2 separate regions of the Homo sapiens genome follow, and region 1 is linked to region 2. Evidence: promoter capture Hi-C in human tissues and cell types (Jung and others, 2019). All regions are on one chromosome and are shown on one strand. The core of a region is centred on a gene start or on the middle of the fragment in contact, and the rest is flanking DNA. Distances in the headings are between cores, read along the strand shown.

Region 1 (4,855 bases), core at 709-3,208, 420 kb before region 2:
TCGTTTTGATATAGTTGCTTTTTTAGTTTATTCTGTGGGTCTTGGTTTCATCCCTGTTAATTGGTCTTACAGAATAAGTAATTCCTAGATAAATTAGCCTCATATACGTGTCTTCTTCTCCAAGGCTTCTAGTAACAACTATGTCCCCTGACCATTCTCCTGAATTTCCCATCTTCTTTTTCTAGTGCACTGTTGGACACAACACCTCCAGTACAATATATCCCAAACTGATCTACCTTCTCTTACTCTTTAACATCTTTCCAACTTGTACCTTGATTAATAACAGATTTCTTTCTTAAAAAAAAAAATGTTGTAGGGGATGACATGACTAGGTTTATCATCATGCTAGAAACCTGGGAGTCATCTTGACTTCTCCATCTCCCCTAACTCTCACATTACATAAGTTACCAAATCCTGTTGATTCTGATATAGTATTTTTAAAGGTTATTATTATTTTAAATTATATGCACATATATACTCCAAAAGTAAGACGGCAAAAAGGAAAAAGATACACAATAAAAAACCTCTCATTCCTTCCCCATTTGCCTCATTCCTAGACTCCCACAAAAGTTTATATATGTTAATGTTATGTTATATCCTTCTGGGGGTTTCAAAACACAACTATGTAGAAGGAACCACATACTTAAACAAATAGTAACACATAGCATGGGATTTCCACAATAGAGGTATACACAGAGTCTGTGAGAAGGAGAAAGAACCACCATGCATTCCCTAAAAGAAGAGTTAGGTATTGGAAAAACCTTCCTATTGGGTCCTGAATAGAAGATGAAAAGGAGAACTTTGGACACGTGAATAAACCAAACTGAGCTGTTAATAAGCAGAGAACTATCAATTAGACACAGAGACAAAGGGTCTAACAATAGGATGCTAGAACATTTCATTGTTTGGGGGGTTCAAAGGACCTATAAGGAAATAAAAGAAAATGCTGGCAGCCACACACAGTGGCTTACATCTGTAATTCCAGCACTTTAGGAGGCCGAGGTGGGCTTCTTGAGGCCATGGACTTGCAGTTACTTTGGGATCTAGCAAAGATTTCAGCGCATTGTAGATGATGAATATTTATTGAATATGTGTAATAATGTATATATACTAAACATATATGTGACAACCCAAGACAAGGAAAATTAATACAATATTAAGCTCACAGATTTATTTAGAAATATAAAATTTTATTTTTATTGAGGTGTAATTAAAATACAGTAAAATGTGCAGATCTTAGCTGTTCACTTTGATGAGGTGTGATGATTATACACATGTAACCAATAACCACAAGAAGATGTAGAGCATTTTTATTACCCCACAACGTTTCCTTGTTGCTCTCTCCATTCAATTTCTTTTGCCTCCAAACACTCTTTGATTTTTAAATGTAGATTAGTTTTGTTCTATCTTCATACAGTGTGTGCTCTTGTGTATCTGGCTTCTTTTGCTTAACATATTTTGAGATTCATCCATGGGGTTGGATGTATCAGTTTTTATTGCTAAGTAATATTTCATTGGGGGAATATTTCACAGTTTATCTTCTGTTGATGGACATTTGGGTAGAATCCAGTTTTTGACTATTATGAATAAGGCCTATACAGATCTTTTTGCAAGTGTGTGTTTTCATTTCTCTTGAGTAAATACCTAGGAATGGAATTGCTGGTTTGTAGGCATATGTGTGTTTAACTTTACAGGAAACTAGTTTTTCAAAGTGGTTTTCCTTTTTATATTCCCACCTGAATATATGAATGTTCTAGTTGTTTTACATCCTCACCAACACTTGGTTAGTCAATCTTTTTAATTTTAGCTATTCTAGTGGGTGTGGAAGGGTATCTCATTGTGGTTTTATTTTGGATTTCCTTGATATCTAGTGATGTTGAGCACCTTTTTGCATGGTTGTTGACAGTATATTTTCTTTCGTAGGATGCCTCTTCAAGCTTTCTGCCCATTAAAAAATGGATTATCTTTTTACTATTGATATGCAGGAATTCTTAATGTACTCACGATACAAATTCTATGTCAGATCAGAGTATTAAGAGTATTTTCTCCTGTTTTGTAGCTTGCCTTATCTTTTTTTTAACAGTATTTTGATGAGTGGAAGTTTTAAAATTTGATGAAGTCCAGTCAATCAACTTTTTGTTTTATGGATTGTGCTTTGAGTTCTTTTTATTTTTTATTTTTTTGAGACAGCGTCTCACTCTCCCAGGCTAGAGTTTAGTGGCGCCATCATAGCTCACTGCAGCCTGGAACTTTTGGGCTCAAGCCACCCTCCTATCTCAGCCTCCTGAGTAGCTGGGTCTACAGATACGTGCCACCATGGCTGGCTCATTTTTTTTTTTTTTTGTATTTTTTGTAGAGATGGGGTTCGCCATGTTGCCCAGGCTGGTGTTGAACTCCTAGGCTCAAGTGATCTTCCTGCCTCAGCCTCCCAAAGTGCTGGGATTACAGGCATGAGCCAGTGTGCCTGGCCCTTTAATTTCTTTTTCACATGTTATTGCAGCATCTGGGATCTTCAATACAACATTGAAGAGAAATGGTGAGAGTGGCTGGGTGCAGTGGTATGGTCCTGTAGTCCCAACTACTTGGGAAGCAAGAGGATTGCTTGAGCCCAGGAGTTCGAGTCCAGCCTGGGTAACACAGAGAGATCCTGTCTCTTTAAAAAAAAGAAAGAGGCCGGGCGCAGTGGCCCATGCCTGTAATCCGAGCACTTTGGGAGGCTGAGGCCGAGGGGGGGGCGGCAGGGGGTGCGGGGGTTGCAAGGTCAAGAGATAGAGACCATCCTGGCTAACATGGTGAAACCCTGTCTCTACTAAAAAATACAAAAATTAGTTGGGCATGGTGGTGTGCATCTGTAGTACCAGCTACTCAGGAGGCTGAGGCAGGAGAATTGCTTGAACCTGGGAGGCAGAGGTTGCAGTGAGCAGAGGTCGTGCCACTGCACTCCAGCCTGGCGACAGCGAGACTCTGTCTCAAAAAAAAAAAAAAGAAAATTAATTTCAGTGTTAACATAAAATATGTTTTAAAATGATGAATTTTTTTTTAAATGAGAGTGAACATCCTGGTCTTGTTGTGATCTTAAGGGGGAAGGCATTTAGTCTTTCCCCAGTAAGTAGTATGTCAGCAGTGGATATTCTGTAGATTAAAAAAAAGAAAATCAGACGAGACGTTTCCTTCCAGTTTACTGGGATTTTAATTAAATCAAATTAATTAATTTACTTTTTGAGATGGAGTCTCACTCTGTCACCTAGGCTGGGGTGCAGTGGTGTGATCTTGGCGCACTGCAACCTCCACCTCCCGGGTTCAAGCAATTCTGCCTCAGCCTCTCAAGTATCTGGGACTACAGGCACCCGCCACCACGCCCAGCAAATTTTTTTGTATTTTTAGTAGAGATGGGGTTTCACTATGTTGGCCAGGCTGGTCTCGAACTCCTGACCTTGTGATCCACCTGCCTTGGCCTCCCAAAGTGCTGGGATTACAGGCGTGAGCCACCGCGCCTGGCCAGGATTTTTATTTTTAAATTATGAATGGGTGCTGAATTTTGTCAGATACCCTCTCTCCTTTTTGGTATTTATTGAGATTATTGTAGTTTTTAAATATTCCATTTTATTAACTTATTTAGAGACAGGGTCTCACTGTATTGCTCAGGCTGAAGTGCAGTGGTGTACCCAGTTCACTGTAACCTCAAATTCCTGGGCTCAAGCAGTCCTCCTGCCTTAGCCTCCTGGGTAGCTAGGACTACAGGCACATGCCACCAAGAATTTCCTTTAATGTTGCATAATGCATAGGTCTAGTAATAGCATCAGTTTTCATTACTTTAAATATATCTATATTTTACTGTCATTTTTCAAGGATATTTTTGCTGGATATAGAATTCTCAGTTGATGGTTTTTTTTCTCTCTTTTTTTTTTTTTTTTTTGAGACAGAGTCTTGCCCTGTCACCTAGGCAGGAGTGCAGTGGCACTATCTCGGCTTACTGCAGGCTCCGCCTCCTGGGTTCACGCCATTCTCCTGCCTCAGCCTTCCAAGTAGCTGGGACTATAGGCGCCTGCCACGGCGCCCAGCTAATTTTTTGTATTTTTAGTAGAGACGGGGTTTCACTGTGTTAGCCAGGATGGTCTCGATCTCCTGACCTCGTGATCCGTCTGCCTCGGCTTCCCAAAGTGCTGGGATTACAGGCGTGAGCCACCACGCCCAGCCTCAGTTTTTTTCCTTTAATCAATTTAAAGATGTCATTTTATTCTTCTCTGGTCTCCATTGTTTCTTTAACTTTCAACAATTTGATGTTGAAAGTTATTGTCATATAAATATAACATTCATATTGAGTAGGATAAAGTTATATTGAATTTGTGAATTGTTTTTGTATTCTGTTTGGAGTTTGCTGAGCTTATTTTTATTTTTATTTTTTTTGCGAGATTGCATCTTGTTTTGTCACCCAGGCTGGAGTGCAGTGGCGTGATCTCAGCTCACTGCAACCTCTGCCTCCTGGATTCAAGCAATTCTCCTGCCTCAGCCTCCCGAGTAAGCTGAGATTACAGGTGCACGCCACCATGCCCAGCTAATTTTTCGTATTTTTAGTAGAGATGGGGTTTCACCAGGTTGGTCAGGCTGGTCTTGAACTCCTGACCTTGTGATCTGCCCGCCTTGGGCTCCCAAAGTGCTGGGATTACAGGCGTGGGATTACCACACCTGGCCTATTTGATTTGTAAGTTGATACTTTTTCCCAAAATTTGGTACATTTTAGACCTTACTTAAAAAATACCGGCCGGGCGCGGTGACTCATGCCTGTAATCCCAGCACTTTGGGAGGCCAAGGCGGATGGATCATGAGGTCAGGAGATCTGGACCATCCTGGCTAA
Region 2 (5,323 bases), core at 2,491-4,990:
TTGTATTTTTAGTAGAGACAGGAGTTTCACCATGTTGGCCAGGCTGGTCTCGAACTCCTGACCTTAGGTGGTCCACCTGCCTCGGCCTCTCAAAGTGCTGGGATTACAGGTGTGAGCCACCACGCCCGGCCAGATTTTAAGTCTTCTTACCACAAAAAAAATAAGTATGTGAGGTAATACATACGTTTATTAGCTCAATTTAGCCACTCTACAAATGTGTATATATTTTAAAATAACATGCTGTACATGAAAATATATATAATTTTTTGTCTGTTAAAAATTAATTAATTAATTAATTTTAAAAAGAGGAGGGCAGGGAATACTTGTGTATTTTGTTAACTGGACAAATGAAACTCTACTTTCATTTGCTCATTAAACAAATACTTGTTTTGTGCTCAGCATGATTCTAGGCACTGGGACTACTGCATTTTGGTCCATTACTTCCTTGCGCACAAAAACCCTTTCTTTTCACCACGAATACACTATGAACATGTTTTTTTCTTCAGTGTTGGCATCTCTTGATTCCTTCCCTCCAGGTCTTTGTGCGAGTTTTACTCTTTAAACCCCAGATATTGTCATATTTTTCTCTGTTAAACTTTTCCAAACAACTCAAAATAGGGTAATTTCTTCTTCTTCTGAATTTCTCTGACAATTATTCTATGGGTCATTTATTAACACAGCATAATCAAACAACTTATTTATTTTCATCTTTCTTGATCCTTTCTTCAGTTGGATGTTGTCTTTGAGGGCAGAGGTTGTCCTCTATGTTTTGAAGTCTCCACACAGCTCGTCGTTGCCTTGCCCGTAGTTGTAGCTCAGTGAAATAAAAATATGTCCGTAGAAGGTGATGTCTGTGACTGGTGAGCTGAGAGCTTGTGGGGTTGGTGTTGTATTTGGGTGCATGTGAATCAGTGCATCTCCTGCTCCATTGGTGTTAAAAGGCTCCCATCGTCCTGGGAACACAATAGGAAAGAGAACAGGTGGGAAGGCACTGGATGAAGGAATGTGGAGAATGGAGGAAAAGTTGATCAGATTGTTGACAACTTTCAGTGTTGAAATTGTCACCAAAATCAAAGTCAGTAAATAAATTTACAATGTCCTTTTCTTCAATGCATCAATAACTTCACCTTCCTGTTCAAAGCACAGCAAGTAATTAATCTCTTATTTGCATTTGAAACCCAAGTTTCAGATGTTTGAAGGTGGTTGTAAAAAATAAAAACCAAAATAAAGCCAAAATAAATAAGCAGCAGCACTAGGCCGGGCACAGTGTCTCACACCTGTAATCCCAGCATTTTAGGAGACCGAGGTGGGTGGATCACAGGAGATCAGGAGTTTGAGACCAGCCTGGTCAGCATGGTGAAACCCTGTCTCTACTAAAAATACAAAAATTAGCCAGGTGTGGTGGTGTGCCCTTATAATCCCAGCTACTGGGGGGCTGAGACAGGAGAATTGCTTGAACCTGGGAGGCAGAGGTTGCAGTGAGCAGAGACCATGCCACTGCACTCCAGCCTGGGCGACAGAGTGAGACTCCGTCTCACACTTGTGGAACCCAGAACTTAGTAACCATGAACAGAACCTTAATAAACAGAAAGTTCTGGAAATAAAGTTTAATCATCATGCAATCTTTATCACTGGGTTAAATGAACAATCATCTGGGAACATGTCTTGGAATGCTTAAAGCTTTGAGATGCATGTGCCTATGTGGCAGACAAATTTCAAATGTGAAACGTTTAGTTAACTTGGTCTTGCTTTTTAATCACTGCTTTAAAATTTAAAAAATGCTGCTGGTCAAGTAAAAATAGCAATAGATAAAATCTGCCCTGAGCAAACAGACCATACATCAATAAATGAATACTTAGCTTAAGCGATTTTCCATGAGACCCATGAAGCATTTCTAATTGAAACTTAACAAGCTACAACCCAACAGACACTCCAATCTTCACTTCTAGAAGGGAAATGTGATACTCCATGTAGACGTAGCTTTTTAAATTTAGCTGGAAGACAGCGTGACAGTGAAGTTGTGTGCTGTAATTTTTTAAAATTGCTGAAGTGTCATGGTTTGCTATTTCGTATTTATTGAAAAAATGTAAATGCTATATTTAACAGAATGGCAGTAACTCTGTTTCAATCTGAAGACTTAATCTTACTAATCATGGTAATATATGCTGGCTGGAGTTGGGAATATTTCATAAAATACTGGAATAAATTTGTGCTTATATTTCAGGGGAATTAATAAAAGCACCTTCATCTGCAACATTTAAAATGTTATTGCCTTTAAATTTGTATTAAATAATGCAGGGAAGATAGATCACTGGGGGAGAATGGATGCACCTCTGTGAGGATCTTGGTCATTCAACACACGTGTACGGGTGAGGAAACTAAGGCACGACTTACTGGGTAGGGAGGTAGGGATATTAGCAAGATCCTTCACTTGTCTGGGCTTTCTGTCTTTGAGTCACCTTTGCGCAGTTTTTCACTGGACTTCACAAGCCTCTGAGGCGGCAGGGCAGACAGGACATCCTTATTTTATAGAGGAGGAAACTTAGGCTTACAGAGGTTTCCTGCCCCAAATCACAAAGGTGGAGCCTAGACCTTCTCAGTCTCCACCAACTGTATTTCGGTTAGCCACAATCCTATCTACCCACATCCAAATGGACACTGTGGCTCTGCAACTTCTGTCAAAAGGGCTCTTTGGCAACAGGAAAAACGTCATGGCTCCATTGTATTGTAGAGGATGGGAATGGGTGTTCCGGCTAAATTCTCCCTCCCCTTTCCCTCCACAGCTCAGATGGCAAATGTGCGACCCAGGGACCTCCCGCTCCAGCAGACCTGTGCGCACAACTTTGCACAGATTACCTGCTAAGTCAGAGCCGAAAGGTAACACAGATGCCAAAGGATAATAAAGGTGAATGAGATTTACTCAAAATTGGAAACTTGGTGTTTGGTTTTTCAGGAGAACAATCAACGACTGTGATTTGAAGTTCACCAGGGTATTCTGAGAGATCTAATCAAAGATAGAGTGCTGGTTTGAAATTATTAAAAGGTAACAGTAAAAGGGAGAGCAAAACCCCAGTCCCAACGCAACCCATAAATCTACTTTGTCTTCCTCGAAAGAGGGGCGCGGGTGGGCGCGTCTCCCCGCGAGCATCTCACCTAAGGGGGAATCCCTTTCAGCGCACGGCGAAGTTCCCCCTCGGCTGTCCCACCTGGCAGTCCCTCTAGGATTTCGGCCAGTCCCTAATTGGCTCCAGCAATGTCCAGCCGGAGCTTCTTTGGGCCTCCGAGTGGGAGAAAAGTGAGAGCAGGTGCTTCCCCAGCGGCGCGCTCCGCTAGGGCCCGGCAGGATCCCGCCCCCAAGTCGGGGAAAGTTGGTCGGCGCCTTTTCTCCCCGACGAAGCCGCTCCAGGGCTGCTCTCAGAGGACGCGCGGCAGGCAAAGAGAATGAACCTGAGCGTCCACGAAACGTCCTGCACGGCTCCCGGGAGCTGGGAGAAACAGGTGCCTTTCTCCGACGTCCGCGGGCGACGCCTGCCGCACCTTGCCCGCTGCCGCGCCCCTCCCGGGCACCCCTCGCCCTCGGCGCCCCTGCCCCCGCCCCCAGTGCCAGGGCGGAGGCAGTCCCGGCTCGCAGGTAATTATTGCCAGCGGAGCCCGCCGGGGAGCGGGGGTGGGCGCGCCGGCGGTGGGCGGGCGGGCGCGGCGGGGCGCGGGCATAAAGGGGCGCGGCGCGGGGCCCCGGAGCCTGGCTCCCGCGCAGCATGCCCGCCAGCGCCCCGCCGCGCCGCCCGCGGCCGCCGCCGCCGTCGCTGTCGCTGCTGCTGGTGCTGCTGGGCCTGGGCGGCCGCCGCCTGCGTGCGGAGCCGGGCGACGGCGCGCAGACCTGGGCCCGTTTCTCGCGGCCTCCTGCCCCCGAGGCCGCGGGCCTCTTCCAGGGCACCTTCCCCGACGGCTTCCTCTGGGCCGTGGGCAGCGCCGCCTACCAGACCGAGGGCGGCTGGCAGCAGCACGGCAAGGGTGCGTCCATCTGGGATACGTTCACCCACCACCCCCTGGCACCCCCGGGAGACTCCCGGAACGCCAGTCTGCCGTTGGGCGCCCCGTCGCCGCTGCAGCCCGCCACCGGGGACGTAGCCAGCGACAGCTACAACAACGTCTTCCGCGACACGGAGGCGCTGCGCGAGCTCGGGGTCACTCACTACCGCTTCTCCATCTCGTGGGCGCGAGTGCTCCCCAATGGCAGCGCGGGCGTCCCCAACCGCGAGGGGCTGCGCTACTACCGGCGCCTGCTGGAGCGGCTGCGGGAGCTGGGCGTGCAGCCCGTGGTCACCCTGTACCACTGGGACCTGCCCCAGCGCCTGCAGGACGCCTACGGCGGCTGGGCCAACCGCGCCCTGGCCGACCACTTCAGGGATTACGCGGAGCTCTGCTTCCGCCACTTCGGCGGTCAGGTCAAGTACTGGATCACCATCGACAACCCCTACGTGGTGGCCTGGCACGGCTACGCCACCGGGCGCCTGGCCCCCGGCATCCGGGGCAGCCCGCGGCTCGGGTACCTGGTGGCGCACAACCTCCTCCTGGTGAGTGCGAGGGGCCAGGCGGAGGGCCACGCAGGGGAGACAGAGGGCCTCCACAGGGGCCAGGGGGAAGTGTGGGAACTGAGTCTCCCCCAGACGAGGCTTCACTTGGACACGTGTATGTGGTCACCGGGGGAAACTGAGCAGTTCTGACTTCCCTTGGAAGGCGTGGAATTAGGAGAGAAATCCCTTAGTGGGCACACGAGTGAGTGCCCCTTGGAGTCCATCTGTGGAAAGGAAGCGGTGATAGGTTTCCGCAGTGAGGAAAGAAACTCCTTTCTCTGGGTGTAGAGGAATTCCTAGAGGTGAGGGCGGGGAGGATTTGCTAGGAGTAACTGCAGGAAGAGAATGAGCAGGGTGGATGAAAGAAACACGTTTGTTCTTAAGCCGCACAGATAGCATTACTCTCTGGAGCTGTCACGAGTTCAGTGTTAATCCAATAAGATCTGTCTTGCTTGTGGCACAAGTTCACACTGTTGTGAAAGTGTCAAAACACAACTCCCGGAGAGTCAGATTTAAACTGTGTTTGGAGGTCCCTTCTGCGGCAGGGCAGGGAACTGCATCCACCAATCTTATTCACCGGGGTGTGAAGACCGCTTTATACAATCTCAAACAAAGCTAGTCATAGAAACACAGAAACAACTGCAGGGTGATATAGATTGTTCTACCACATCTATATTTCCACAGTGCTCTCTACAGTTGAAAGGGTTCCTCACTTATGACATTGTTAGCCTGATAAAATTAATTGT

What was found. Contacts are between HindIII fragments. The study calls those that stand out against the background at their distance.
Region 1: a contact is called between a fragment that was not itself captured here and the fragment with the promoter of KL in region 2, in 1 of the 25 tissues and cell types used here (dorsolateral prefrontal cortex).

What each region holds. Positions count from the first base shown.
Region 1 is chr13:32,594,873-32,599,727 of GRCh38, forward strand. All of the region lies in intron 1 of PDS5B (PDS5 cohesin associated factor B), which reads left to right. Among named protein-coding and RNA genes, the nearest start is that of PDS5B, 11 kb to the left of the region's middle. The HindIII fragment of the contact is 7,594 bases long and covers 1-4,855 here.
Region 2 is chr13:33,012,683-33,018,005 of GRCh38, forward strand. KL (klotho) reads left to right here and starts at 3,741. Exons shown (of 5, transcript NM_004795.4): 1 at 3,741-4,577. The coding sequence starts at 3,759. It overlaps LOC124903151 (translation initiation factor IF-2-like), which reads right to left and starts at 3,771. Exons shown (of 2, transcript XM_047430819.1): 1 at 3,154-3,771; 2 at 170-953. The coding sequence starts at 3,760. The coding sequence ends at 763. RefSeq lists enhancers at 3,345-3,920, 3,921-4,498, 4,707-4,766 and silencers at 3,777-3,846, 4,537-4,636. The HindIII fragment of the contact is 14,739 bases long and covers 1-5,323 here.